Regions from separate parts of the Homo sapiens genome. Here region 2 is linked to region 1. The links are contacts of gene promoters, found by promoter capture Hi-C in blood cells and fetal thymus (Javierre and others, 2016). All regions are on one chromosome and are shown on one strand. Each heading gives the region's core, a stretch centred on a gene start or on the middle of the fragment in contact. The rest is flanking DNA. Distances are from core to core; before and after follow the strand shown. Region 1 holds the start of TUT1 (terminal uridylyl transferase 1, U6 snRNA-specific). Region 2 overlaps FERMT3 (FERM domain containing kindlin 3).

Evidence for each region. Contacts are between HindIII fragments. The CHiCAGO score rates a contact against its expected background, and 5 or more counts as called.
Region 2: a fragment that was not itself captured here is called in contact with the fragment with the promoter of TUT1 in region 1 in 1 of 17 cell types (non-activated CD4 T cells); the score reaches 5.1 in non-activated CD4 T cells.

What each region holds. Positions count from the first base shown.
Region 1 is chr11:62,587,282-62,594,367 of GRCh38, forward strand. It overlaps TUT1 (terminal uridylyl transferase 1, U6 snRNA-specific), which reads right to left and starts at 4,242. Exons shown (of 9, transcript NM_022830.3): 1 at 4,123-4,242; 2 at 1,750-1,940. The coding sequence starts at 4,204. It overlaps MTA2 (metastasis associated 1 family member 2), which reads right to left. Exons shown (of 18, transcript NM_004739.4): 17 at 6,978-7,086; 18 at 5,933-6,759. The coding sequence ends at 6,594. RefSeq lists enhancers at 4,052-4,747, 4,164-4,393. The HindIII fragment of the contact is 7,198 bases long and covers 610-7,086 here.
Region 2 is chr11:64,206,893-64,211,437 of GRCh38, forward strand. FERMT3 (FERM domain containing kindlin 3) reads left to right here. Exons shown (of 15, transcript NM_031471.6): 2 at 459-632; 3 at 3,719-3,952; 4 at 4,160-4,279; 5 at 4,383-4,545. The coding sequence starts at 473. Among named protein-coding and RNA genes, the nearest start is that of FERMT3, 2.4 kb to the left of the region's middle. RefSeq lists enhancers at 1-77, 398-477, 1,418-1,537, 1,598-1,677. The HindIII fragment of the contact is 4,283 bases long and covers 1,003-4,545 here.

The DNA of each region.
Region 1 (7,086 bases), core at 2,992-5,491:
AGCGATTCTCCTGCCTCAGCCTCCCGAGTAGCTGGGATTACAGGCATGTGCCACCACGCCCCGCTAATTTTGTATTTTTAGTAGAGACGGGGTTTCTCCATGTTGGTCAGGCTGATCTCGAACTCCCGACCTCACATGATCCACCCGCCCCAGCCTACCAAAGTGCTGGGATTACAGGCGTGAGCCACTGGACCTGGCCGACACTAACCTTTTATACTCTGCCCTACAAGCTGCCCCTTCTTCTTTTCTGAAGATATGGGGCAGCAGTATCGTAACTATGAAGAGCCACATACCAATAATGGCAGAGCAGGAAAACAGCAAAGCCCTGAACTGTCCAGGTCTGGACTTCTTGTTACATGAGAAAAACTAAATTCCTATTGTTTAAGCCATTTGTAGTTTGGTTGCTGAATGCAATCCCTAACAAACACAGGCTCCACCCCATTCTAAAAGATAACCTGGGCTGCAAAGGGATATTTTGGATCACCTAAGCCATGCCTACATAACAAGAGTACAGCCTCAGAACCACAGTATGACCAAGGAACACAGCACCTCAACAGTGAACTTTTTTCAAGGGACCAAAACCTACAGGGAAGCAACACAAAAAGCACAAGCTTGTTTATCTAACACTCTCCAAAGGACAGGGTGTTCTAACCAAACAACCTTAGTACCCTCAGTGTAAGTTAATAAACTGCTAACTGGTTTATCAACCAGGTTCTTGTGGAGTTGATCCAATGGTATGTTGTTCTTTAAGCACCAACTTTCACTATAATTACTTAATTGTTTACTTTCTCCTCTAGACTATAGGCTCTGTGAGAGCAGGGACCATATCTACCCCATTCACTACTCAGAATGCAGCCCTAAGCATAGTGCCTAGTACAAAGTTAGCTGTGAATAAATATTTGGCAAAGAATTCACTGAATCAATAGATGACACACACAAAAAAATCCCCCAGTGACTAACTCTGGTGAAGTGATAAAATCCAAAGGGTGGGACTGGGAGCAGTGGCTCACGCCCGTAATCCCAGCATTTGGGGAGGTTGAGGTGCACGGATCACCTGAGGTCAGGAGTTCGAGACCAGCCTGGCCAACATGGTGAAACCCTGTCTCTACTAAAAATACAAAAATTAGCTGGGCATGGGGGCACGCGCCTGTAATCTCAGTTGCTTGGGTGGCTAAGGTGTGAGAATTGCTGGAACCCAGGAGGTAGACGTCACAGTGAGCTGAGATTGTGCCACTGCACTCAAAAATATAATAATAAAAATAAAAATTCAAGGGGTGGGGGAGGTGTGAGAAGCTCCCAAAGCTGGTCTAGCCCAAGTACTGTGATGTCCATCAAGAATAAGCCACATTAGGAACCAGCTCAAAGAGGCTGTTGGTTTCTCTCTCTTGTCTCTTTGGTACACAGCACATCTGATTCATTCTTTTTTTTCTTAAGACGGAGTCTTGCTCTGTAATCCAGGCTGGAGCACAGTGGCACGATCTCAGCTTGCTGCAACCTCCACCTCCCGGGTTCAAGCGATTCTCCTGCCTCAGCATCCCAAGTAGCTGGGACTACAGGCATGCGCCATCACACCCAGCTAATTTTTTATTTTTAGTAGAGATGGGGTTTCACCATGTTGGCCAGGCTGGTCTCAAACTCCTAACCTCAGGTAATCCGCCTGCCTCAGCCTCCCAAAGTGATGGGATTACAGGCGTGAGCCATCGCGCCCAGCACTGATTCATTCTTTAACCCGAGAGCCATTCACTTTACCTTGTCCTTGTCCATGACAACACTGGCCACAGGTCCAAATGCTAGGAAGTACTCAGAGAGCTGAGCAGAATCCACATCCCTGGGAAAGCCACTGACAAACACACTTCGAAGTCCCTGGGCCTTTCTCGCAGCTCGTAGTTCTACCAGGTGCCGGTGCTTTCTGCCTCCCAAGTGGGCATCAAGGCTGGGTCCTGCAAAGACAAGTGTGAGACAAAAACATGCAAAGCACTCTTCGACGTGTCTGCCTTTGCTCTCTGCATACCTAAATCTTACTGATCCTTCCAAGCCACAGAAACTGTGACCTTTGAATAAACAAAGTCCTGGCTCCTTTCACCTTCCTCTCTTATACATTTGTCTAAATAGTACATTCTTTTTTTTTTAATTTATTTTTTTTAAACAGAGTCTCACTGTCGCCCCCGCTGGAGTTCAGTGGCGCAGTCTCCACTCACTGCAACGTCTGCCTCCCAGGTTCAAGAAATTCTCCTGCCTCAGCCTCGTGAGTAGGTGGGACTACAGGCGTGTGTCACCACACCCGGCTAATTTTTGTATTTTTAGTAGAGACGAGGGTTCCCAGGAGAACTGGCTACACTACAAGTATTTTGTTTATTTTTACTTAAAGAACAGTGTGATAGTAAAGTATTTCTTAAACCACCTATTTGTGCTAGGTAGAGTTGGAAACAAATTAACAGGTAACTTATCCAGGTCATCTACACAAGAACTAAAAAAATTTGGATCATGGAATACTTTGTGGATCATCTTTGGACATGGTATAATATAGTGATGTCAAAGGCAGGATCTGAAATTACATTGCCCAAGTTCAAATCCCAGCTCTGTCAACCTGTGTGAGACCTTGGTCAAGTTATGAAGCCTCACTGTGCATCAACTTCCTCAGATATAAAATGGAAATATCAGTATCTAGCACCTCACACACAGGTATTATTCAGATATATCACTTGGCAGAGAGAGTCTGGTACACGGTAAATGTTGAAAAACTAACCGTTGCTATTATTTTATTGAGTTAGCTGCTTGATGTCACCAAAGTAAATGTGGGGCCAAAGAAGACTCCTAGGTTTCTGGCTTGGCTTACTGGATGAACAGTGATAGTGCCATTCACAGTGAAAAGGAAGAATGGAAGTAAACCCTGTTTAGGGAACACTGTGATTCCAGACTTCAAAAGTAGGGCTGGGCACATTGGCTCACGCCTGTAATCCCAGCACTTTGGGAGGCCAAGATGGGAAGATCGCTTGAGGCCAGGAATTGGAGACCAGCCTAGGCAACATGGTGAAAACCCATCTCTACAAAAAACTAAAAAATTTGCCAAGTAGGCCGGGCGCGGTGGCTCAGGCCTGTAATCCCGGCACTTTGGGAGGCCGAGGCGGGCGGGTCACGAGGTCAGGAGATCGAGACCATCCTGACTAACATGGTGAAACCTCGTCTCTACTAAAAAATACAAAAAATTAGCCGGGCGTGGTGGCGGGTGCCTGTAGTCCCGGCTACACGGGAGGCTGAGGCAGGAGAATGGGGTGAACCCAGGAGGTGGAGCTTGCAGTGAGCCAAGATCGTGCCACTGCACTCCAGCCTGGGTGACAGAGTGAGACTCTGTCTCAAAAAAAAAAAAAAAAGAAAAAAGAAATTAGCCAAGTATGGTGGTGCACACCTGTAGACTCAACTACTTGGGAGGCTAGCCAGGGGTATGGTTTGAGCCCGGGAGGTTGAGGCTGCAGTGAGCCAAGATCACACCACCGCACTGCAGCCTGGGTGACAGAGCAAGACCTTGTCTCAAAAAAAAAAAAAAAGTGGAATTTGAAGTTACAGTGAACCCCTTGTGTGTCATACAAGAACCTTGTCTATTTTTCCAAACCCATCTTCTGTCTCTTCCTCACTGGTACCTTATGGTCTAGTCATTCATGCCACACCTATTTCATCCATCCCCTCCTTTGAGTAGGTCCTCTGTAGGGCTTCTCTGATTTAGTTACTAATTCTCTGTGGTCCCACAGTTCTCCGAACATATCTATAAAGCATTGAAACTTTCTCATTCTCTAGACGGTGAGCTCCTTCATCTCTGAACCCCCCTCCCCCACCCTAAAGATCAGCAGAATACCAGGCACAGAGCATATGTCCAATAGATGATGGTTAAAGAAGTAATAAAACAATTAAACTTGCGTTGTGGAGATTTCATATACTGAGGAGTGTAATGTGGTGGAACTTTCCCGACTCTCCAAATCCCCTCGGACTTGCAGAGAAAAACGGAGGTGAGAGACCCTACCAATCAACTTGACAAGAACGACTGACTACCTATAACCCTAACTTTCGCCAGGATCAAAAGACGAAAGCCCGCAACCACCCCCGGGTCCCTCACTAGCCACCGCTTACGGTTGGCTGTAGTAACGTGGCAGAGGCAGCAGCGGAACCCCCCACGCGGCAGCGATTCGACATCCGAATCCACCGCCGCCATAGCGACTCTCCTGTACCGACAAAAACACAAGCACCTCTGCCACCACCGGAACCCACTTCGCCAAAGCTCAACGCGCTCGGAAGCAACTTCCGCCGATCCGATAGGAAGTGACATAAAGTCGTTCAATTGCGCGGACACACTCCTCCGGAAACCAAGCTCCTTCGACTCTGGGTTCCGTTTCTAGCCGCTGTCCAGTCCCCGCCCGTTTCAGGAAAAGCGGCGCGTTACGATGCTTATCTGCATGCGGTAAGCCGATTGGTGTGCTTTAAGCTGTTCAGACGTTGATTGGCCCAAAGCATCGTGAATATTCATGACAGCAGCCACAAAGGCCGGCGCCGGGTGGCATCTTGCGGCAGCTCCTTCACCCCGCAGTAGACACCCGTGCGTCTGTACCCTCGACCCTTATTTACCCGACGAATAAAGGCGGAGGATCGGCGGCTTCCAATTCTTTGCCCCACGGAGCCCAGGGCTGTCCCTGGACTTCCAACCTTTTCAGGGCTGTTACTCCCTCCCTCCGCCCCCTGTCCTCCCGCAAAACGGGTGTTCTGCGACGGCTTCTAGCCCTGGTTGGGGAGCTCTGCCACCACCGGGCACCTTCCGGACTCCACGAGGTCCTGGAGCCAGGCCCATTCCTTCCGCAGTAGTGGGCTGCGTGGTGTACGCCGGAGGCGCCAGAGCTACTGGCGCACCTCAGAGCAGTGCGACAAGACAAAACCGAGTGCCAGTAACTGAGTTTAGACACTGGAGGGGGCGAATGCTGTCAACCCCCTCCTGGTATAATTGTCAGTTCATCCCAACGCCGCCGAGGTGTAGGCTCAGGACAGGGAGGGACTACGGGGAGCTGGGGATGCCCTAGGGACAGGGACCATAACGAGGTGGAGAGAACTATCAGATGGGCTCAGCAGCTTGTGCTGTGGTTATCAGCCCACAGCTTTGAATGGCGCAAAGAGCAGTGGACCTAAGGCAGACACCAAGGTCTTTGACCTTGAACAAGTCACAACTGTTGAGGCCGTTTCCCATCTCTAAAGGAAGTGCCCAAGGAGCACACAGCAGGCTGAACTTCTTGTTCTCTATCCTAAGGTGTTCCTTCTAATGGGCCCAGCTCAGGCATCTAATCTCAGTGTCCCAAACCTTTAAGGCAGGAAACAGTGCTACAGTGGATCGGGATATCATCGAGACTGGCCTTGAGGATCCTGAAGCAGCAGGCTGTACACATACACCCAGAGGTGCTAGGGTGGTTCAGTGGTAGAATTCTCGTCTGCCAAATACACCACACAGCTAGGTGAGGGGATCCTCCTATAACCCCACCACCACCCCCAAGGGGGTATACATGTTACCCTGGCTGCTAGCAACTTCCAGAATTCCTTAAACAAAAGGGAGAGGGGAGTAAGAGGTGGGAAACAGAGGAAGAAACACCCCCATTCCCCTTTCCTATGGAGGCCACCAGTCATCCAGAAAGCTCATCTCAACTCCTTTGAATGAATCTGGGCCAAGATGGTTCTTGAGCTCCAGCACCACTGGGAGCTGGGGAGCAGTTTGGGTCCCACAAGAAGCCTAGCTGGAGCAAGCCGCCTGGGTCCAGGCTGCCTATCTCATAAAGCTGTTCCCAGGGCAAGAACCATCTGTACCTCCTTTGTTGTCCTTTGTCCTTTATTTTCCCTCTCAAAGACACCCCCAACACACACACAACACACACCCATGGCAAAGAACAGCTGAGCCAGGAGAAGCTGAAGAAAACAGCTTTTTATTTGTTACTATAAGAACCAATTACAGAATCCGAGGTTAAAAAAACGGACAAAAGATCTTTATTTCTGAGAACTGGCGTACAAAAGGCAGAGGGGGAGGGGAGGGAAGGAAAGAGCGAGCGTGGCCTGGGGTTGATGCCAGCTTAGGGGCCTCAAACTCCAATTAGGAAAGTCCGGACACCGGACAGAAAGAGAAACCCCCAATTAGGAAAAAAAAAAAAAAAAAAAAAAAAAAAGACATGGCAGTGCACGCCCCCCTCCCCCAACCAGGTACCACCACCTGTTATCTGTTTACTCTTCCCCTCCCCATCCCCTTTCACAAAGGGAGGCAAAATTTTTAAAAAATTAAAAAACCCTCCCCCCAAAACTGTCCAAGACATCTGTGGGTCCTACCCCCCAAAACAGGCTAGGTTCCCACATGGGCCAAGTTCCTGCAGTCTGTCCTCCATCGGCAAGCATGGAGGCATGAGACAAGTCTCGAGGTGGTAACACCAGAGGGCGCCCAACCCCTCCAGGGACACACACTCACTTGCTCTCTTCCTTAATTCACTCCTCACTCCCTTCGACACGAAAGGGAAGGGAGGTTTGGGTGCCCTGGGCATCCACCCTCTACCTCTCAGCCCACCTCCCTTCCCCACAGGTGCTCAGTCCTCCAGGACAATAGGCTCATTGGTGCTGGCAGGATGTGAGGGTGCAGGTAGAGGGACAGGGGGCCGCACTGCAATCAGCGTTGGCTTCACCTTCAGGGGCAAGTTGGGTCGGCGAGCAGCTCGCCGCATTTCCAGATGGGTCAGAGCCTTCCGTAGGGCCCTGGCCAGAAAGAGCAAGTGGGAAACAGAAAAGGCTTAGAGAACATTAAGACCTCCAGGTGAAGCCCCACACTGCAATTATGCCTTCTGGCCCATTCTTTTCTGGCATCCCCACCCTGCATCCACAACTTTCCTGGAGCTCTTGCTCTGATACTCCTACTCCCCACACTCACCAGCCTGGACTGTCCCTCTCAGCCCCTCCCATGGTAGACGCCTTACCTGGTATCCTTTGTGGCCACAAACACCACAGGATTGGGGGCATCAGCTGGGTTTAGTTTCTGACGCTTGGCTGCTGGCTGTGAGCTTGAACGAATCCCTGAAGCCAGAG
Region 2 (4,545 bases), core at 1,894-4,393, 1.6 Mb after region 1:
CATGCGGCAGCCTGAACTTTCCACCTCCCCGGAGAGGCTTTGGCTGGTTTGTGATGTTGGCATCTGAGCTGTGGGCCAGGATCGGAACTACTTCCTGGCCTGGGTACGAAGCCATGGCCAGAGTGGGCAGCTGCCCCTGAGGGTCTGGGAGTGAGCTGTGGGCTGGCATTGAGCACGGTGGTCCTGAGTGAGCCCCTTCTTACCCGGCCTCAGTCTGCCCGCCTGTAGGATGGGAGCGGATTGGACTACATGGTCTCTGAGGGCCCTCGCGGCTCAAGCGCCAGCGCTGGAGAGAGAGTCTGAGGGTACCACGGGCGTGCTGGCCTGGGTGCTCACTCCCGCCCTCCTTCATGAGCGGCTTTCCTCTGGGTGTGTCCAGGGCATCACAGAGCTCTTCTGCCCAAACCCGGAGGCCTACCAGGGCCTGCCCACCTTGCCTCCTTCCACACTCTCTGTAGCAGCAGCCGCAGCCATGGCGGGGATGAAGACAGCCTCCGGGGACTACATCGACTCGTCATGGGAGCTGCGGGTGTTTGTGGGAGAGGAGGACCCAGAGGCCGAGTCGGTCACCCTGCGGGTCACTGGGGAGTCGCACATCGGCGGGGTGCTCCTGAAGATTGTGGAGCAGATCAGTGAGTGTCCGCTGCCCGCTTGCTGAACTCGGCACCATGGGCGGCCGCCACGGGTGTCTCTGGGCACTTCCGGGCCATCCCTGCTGCTCAGCTCCCGATAATGGTGTCACGGTGACTCAGGCATTAGCTTAATCATTTGGTTCCAAAAAAGACATTTCCCCAACTTCCTCTCCCTCCCACCCTCTTCCCTCCCTCCCTTCTGCTGCAGCTGGTCTGCTAAGGATCAGACGCAGCCACAATCCTCCATTCAGCCACCAATAGGGGCAGAAGGAGTGGTCTTGTCTGGGCCGAGGCTGAAGTCACATTGCTGAGGTCTGAGGGGGTCTAGGTGACCCAGGGGCCTGCCCCCACGCTCCCTCCCCTTGGCGGAAGCTTTGAGCAGGTTGGTGACAGGCCCAGCCTGGGTGGGAAGGCCCTGCCCCCACAGGAAGTTACAGCAGAGCAGCTGTGGTATCAGTCATGGAGGACCACGGGGCTAGTGACACGGGGGCTCCTCATCTTCCTTCCCTGCCGGGGGTGGGGGCTACCCCTTCCTGAGAGAGCAGCAGGAAGACCCCGATAGGCAGAGCCGGAAGACAGGCCCACCACAGTCCCGGCCAAGAGCCTGGGCCTGGGCTGCCAGTGGGTGGGGGGTGGGTGATGGTGGGGAGGCTTCCTCAGACCCCGCCAGGCCACCATGTGCAGCACAGGAGGAGGTCAGTCCGACTGTGGAGAGGATAGGGTCCAGAACGGCCCGGCCACAAGACTGAGGCTGTGAGGGGAGCTGCCAGGGGCAGGGCCCGGAGCAGCTGTGAGAATAGAAGTGAGGAACAGAGAGAGGGTGGTGAAGACCTGGGTGGCCCCAGGGCACGGCATGAGGGTAACGCAGGAGGCCTTAACCTGGAGTCAGACAGACCCCGCTGCTCTACCCGCTGCTGGGCACCCCAGGGCAAGTTCCTTTAGCTCTGTGTTCCCTGTGGTGGGGATACTGTCACTCCTAAGCACATCAGCTCTGTCTACTGATGCTCAGCCTGGCCGCCCCGGGCCAGTCCCTGGCCTCCTGGAGCAGCAGCGGGTGAGACTGACCCATGGGGGCTGCGTGCCGGCTGCCGCACAGAGGGCGCTATCATGGGGGCCTGGAGCCAGAGGAGGGGGCTGCCCCGAGCCCAGGATGGGGATAACCCCAGGAGAAGTCCTGAGAGGTGGCCTCAGCAGGGAGGAGCAAGGTGGTGGCGCTGGGACTCGGAGGGCTGTGAATTAGGGCTCTCGGCTGGTGAGGATGCTGGGAGCGTGACCAGAAATGAGGCTGGCTGGTGCCTGGCCAGCTCTGCATGGCCCCGAAGGCCTCCAGAAGGGGTCTAGACTTTCTTCTGGAGGGGAAGGTGGCCACCGAAGGGTTCTCAGCAGGAGGCTGTCCTGCTAAGGTCAGCAGCAAGGCGAAAGGCTGGTGGCGGCAGGCCCCTGAGGAGGCTGTGGTCCTGGTTAGAGACACCAGGGCCTCCTAAGGCCGGGCAGGGAGGATGGAGAGGAGGGTGGATTTTAGAGGTGGGATTGGCATTGATTACATGTGGTGGCTAGAAGAGAAAGGGAGGATGCCTGGGCCTTTGGCGCGAGTCCGTGTCCCCCAGCCCTGAGAGGTGGTGTAGGGAGCTGGTGAGGAGGGGGAGCTGGCTAGGAGAGGGCACCTCTGTGCACAGCGAGTCTGAGCTGAGCTCCAAAAGCCGAGACCAGGAGTCATGGTGCTTACAGTCCCAGTGTCAGCCACTCGGCCACAGGAACAGAGGGTTCTGGAAAGGAGGAAGCCGGTGGACAGGCCCCTCAGCTGGCAGCACATGGGTTTCTGGCTGGGGGCCCAGGGCAGGGTCTGGGCCGAGGGCCACGCATGGGGAGGCAGCAGAAAATGGCAACTGAAACCACAGAATAGGGAGACCCAGTAAGGGGACCTGGCCGAGGCAGGAGAAGAGGGTCCCAGGCCGAACCTGGGGAAAGGACAAGGTAAGGGGCCGGTCAGGAGAGGGACCGGAGAGGGGCCAGAGAGGACAGGAGAAGAGCAAGGAGCCAAGACAAGGGGATGCGGCGGCACACAGCCAGAGTCCCACTGGGGTGCCCAGGAGGGAAGGGCCCAGCCTGGGAGGGGAAGTGCCGGAGGACGAGCGCTTCTCTTGGTTTGGCAGCAGTGGTGATGCCCGGCATGTGCAGCAGTGGGGTTGGGGGCTGGCTGAGGTGGGTGGGATGCAGTGGGAATCAGAAAACTCACCGGGAGGACCTGGGAGGAACTCAGGAAACAGGGCTTTGCAAACTCTCAAGGGCTGTGTGCCCAGAGCAGCTTTCCGGCAGCCTTTTTCCTATGCTCTCTCCCACCTGTTCATGCTCCTGGAGGGAGGAGGCGGGGAGACCTGTGCCTTCCATTACTGTAACTCCAGTTCCCAGCTGGCTGACAAGGGACAGACGCACATCTCTAATTCAATGCTCACTCATGGATCGTCATGTGCGTGCACAAGTTTGCTGCAAACCCTGCAGCTACCACATGGGAGGCCTTGTTCCGTGTCCCAGTTTGTAAGATCGTTATTGTATCTTACAGGGAAACTGAGGCCCAGTGAGGTTAAGTGGCTTGTCCAAGGTCACACAGCTAATAGCTAAAAATATTGAGTGCTCACTGCTCCAGGCCAGGCACAGGTCCAGGCCCTGAGGACATACAACGGTGAGACAGACGTAGTCTCTGCCTCCAGGAGCTCCCCAGAATGCAAGACAGAGGCTGTTAAACCGTGGATTATGGGAGGACAGAGGGGGCGTCATGTGGAGGGAGCCCAGTGGGCTGGAATGCAAGAGATGGGGCGCTAAGATTGGGGCACTCAGATGCTGGGTTGGAGAGCTCCCCTGGGAAGCGATATAGAAGCCAAGCCTAGAAGGCCAAATCAGGGGCTGCCTGCAGAGAGCCCTGCTGCTGTTACCATGGGGTAGACCCCAGGCCCGCCCAGGCTGCCCCACTCTTGGCTTAGGCAGGGCAGGGGAGTGGTCGCCCCAGGCTTCTGAATCCTGGGGTTGTGCTGGGTGTTGGGGGCACCAGGGAGGAAGGTTGGACCCAGATGTGCCCCCGTGCCCCACAGATCGCAAGCAGGACTGGTCAGACCATGCTATTTGGTGGGAACAGAAGAGGCAGTGGCTGCTGCAGACCCACTGGACACTGGACAAGTACGGGATCCTGGCCGACGCACGCCTCTTCTTTGGGCCCCAGCACCGGCCCGTCATCCTTCGGTTGCCCAACCGCCGCGCACTGCGCCTCCGTGCCAGCTTCTCCCAGCCCCTCTTCCAGGCTGTGGCTGCCATCTGCCGCCTCCTCAGTAAGTTGCCCGGCTGATTCCCCTGGCCCACGAGGGTGATGCAAAGAGGCAGGTTCCCCCGTTTCCAGGCCCAGCTCTGTTGACGCTGTCCTTGCTGTCTGGGTTGCCACCCTGCCTGCAGGGCTGTGACCCGCCCCAAGCACCCATGGGTGAGGTGGGGAGGCTGCAGCAGGACCTAGTCCCCGCTGAGACCCTAGCTCCCCTCAGGCATCCGGCACCCCGAGGAGCTGTCCCTGCTCCGGGCTCCTGAGAAGAAGGAGAAGAAGAAGAAAGAGAAGGAGCCAGAGGAAGAGCTCTATGACTTGAGCAAGGTTGTCTTGGCTGGGGGTGAGTGCAAGTGGGGGTGGGCCTGGGGGGTTGGGGGCAGGGGCCGGCCCGTGAGTCCCAGCCCTGGGGGACAGGCCTGGTTGACTCCCAACCTGCACTCCAGGCGTGGCACCTGCACTGTTCCGGGGGATGCCAGCTCACTTCTCGGACAGCGCCCAGACTGAGGCCTGCTACCACATGCTGAGCCGGCCCCAGCCGCCACCCGACCCCCTCCTGCTCCAGCGTCTGCCACGGCCCAGCTCCCTGTCAGACAAGACCCAGCTCCA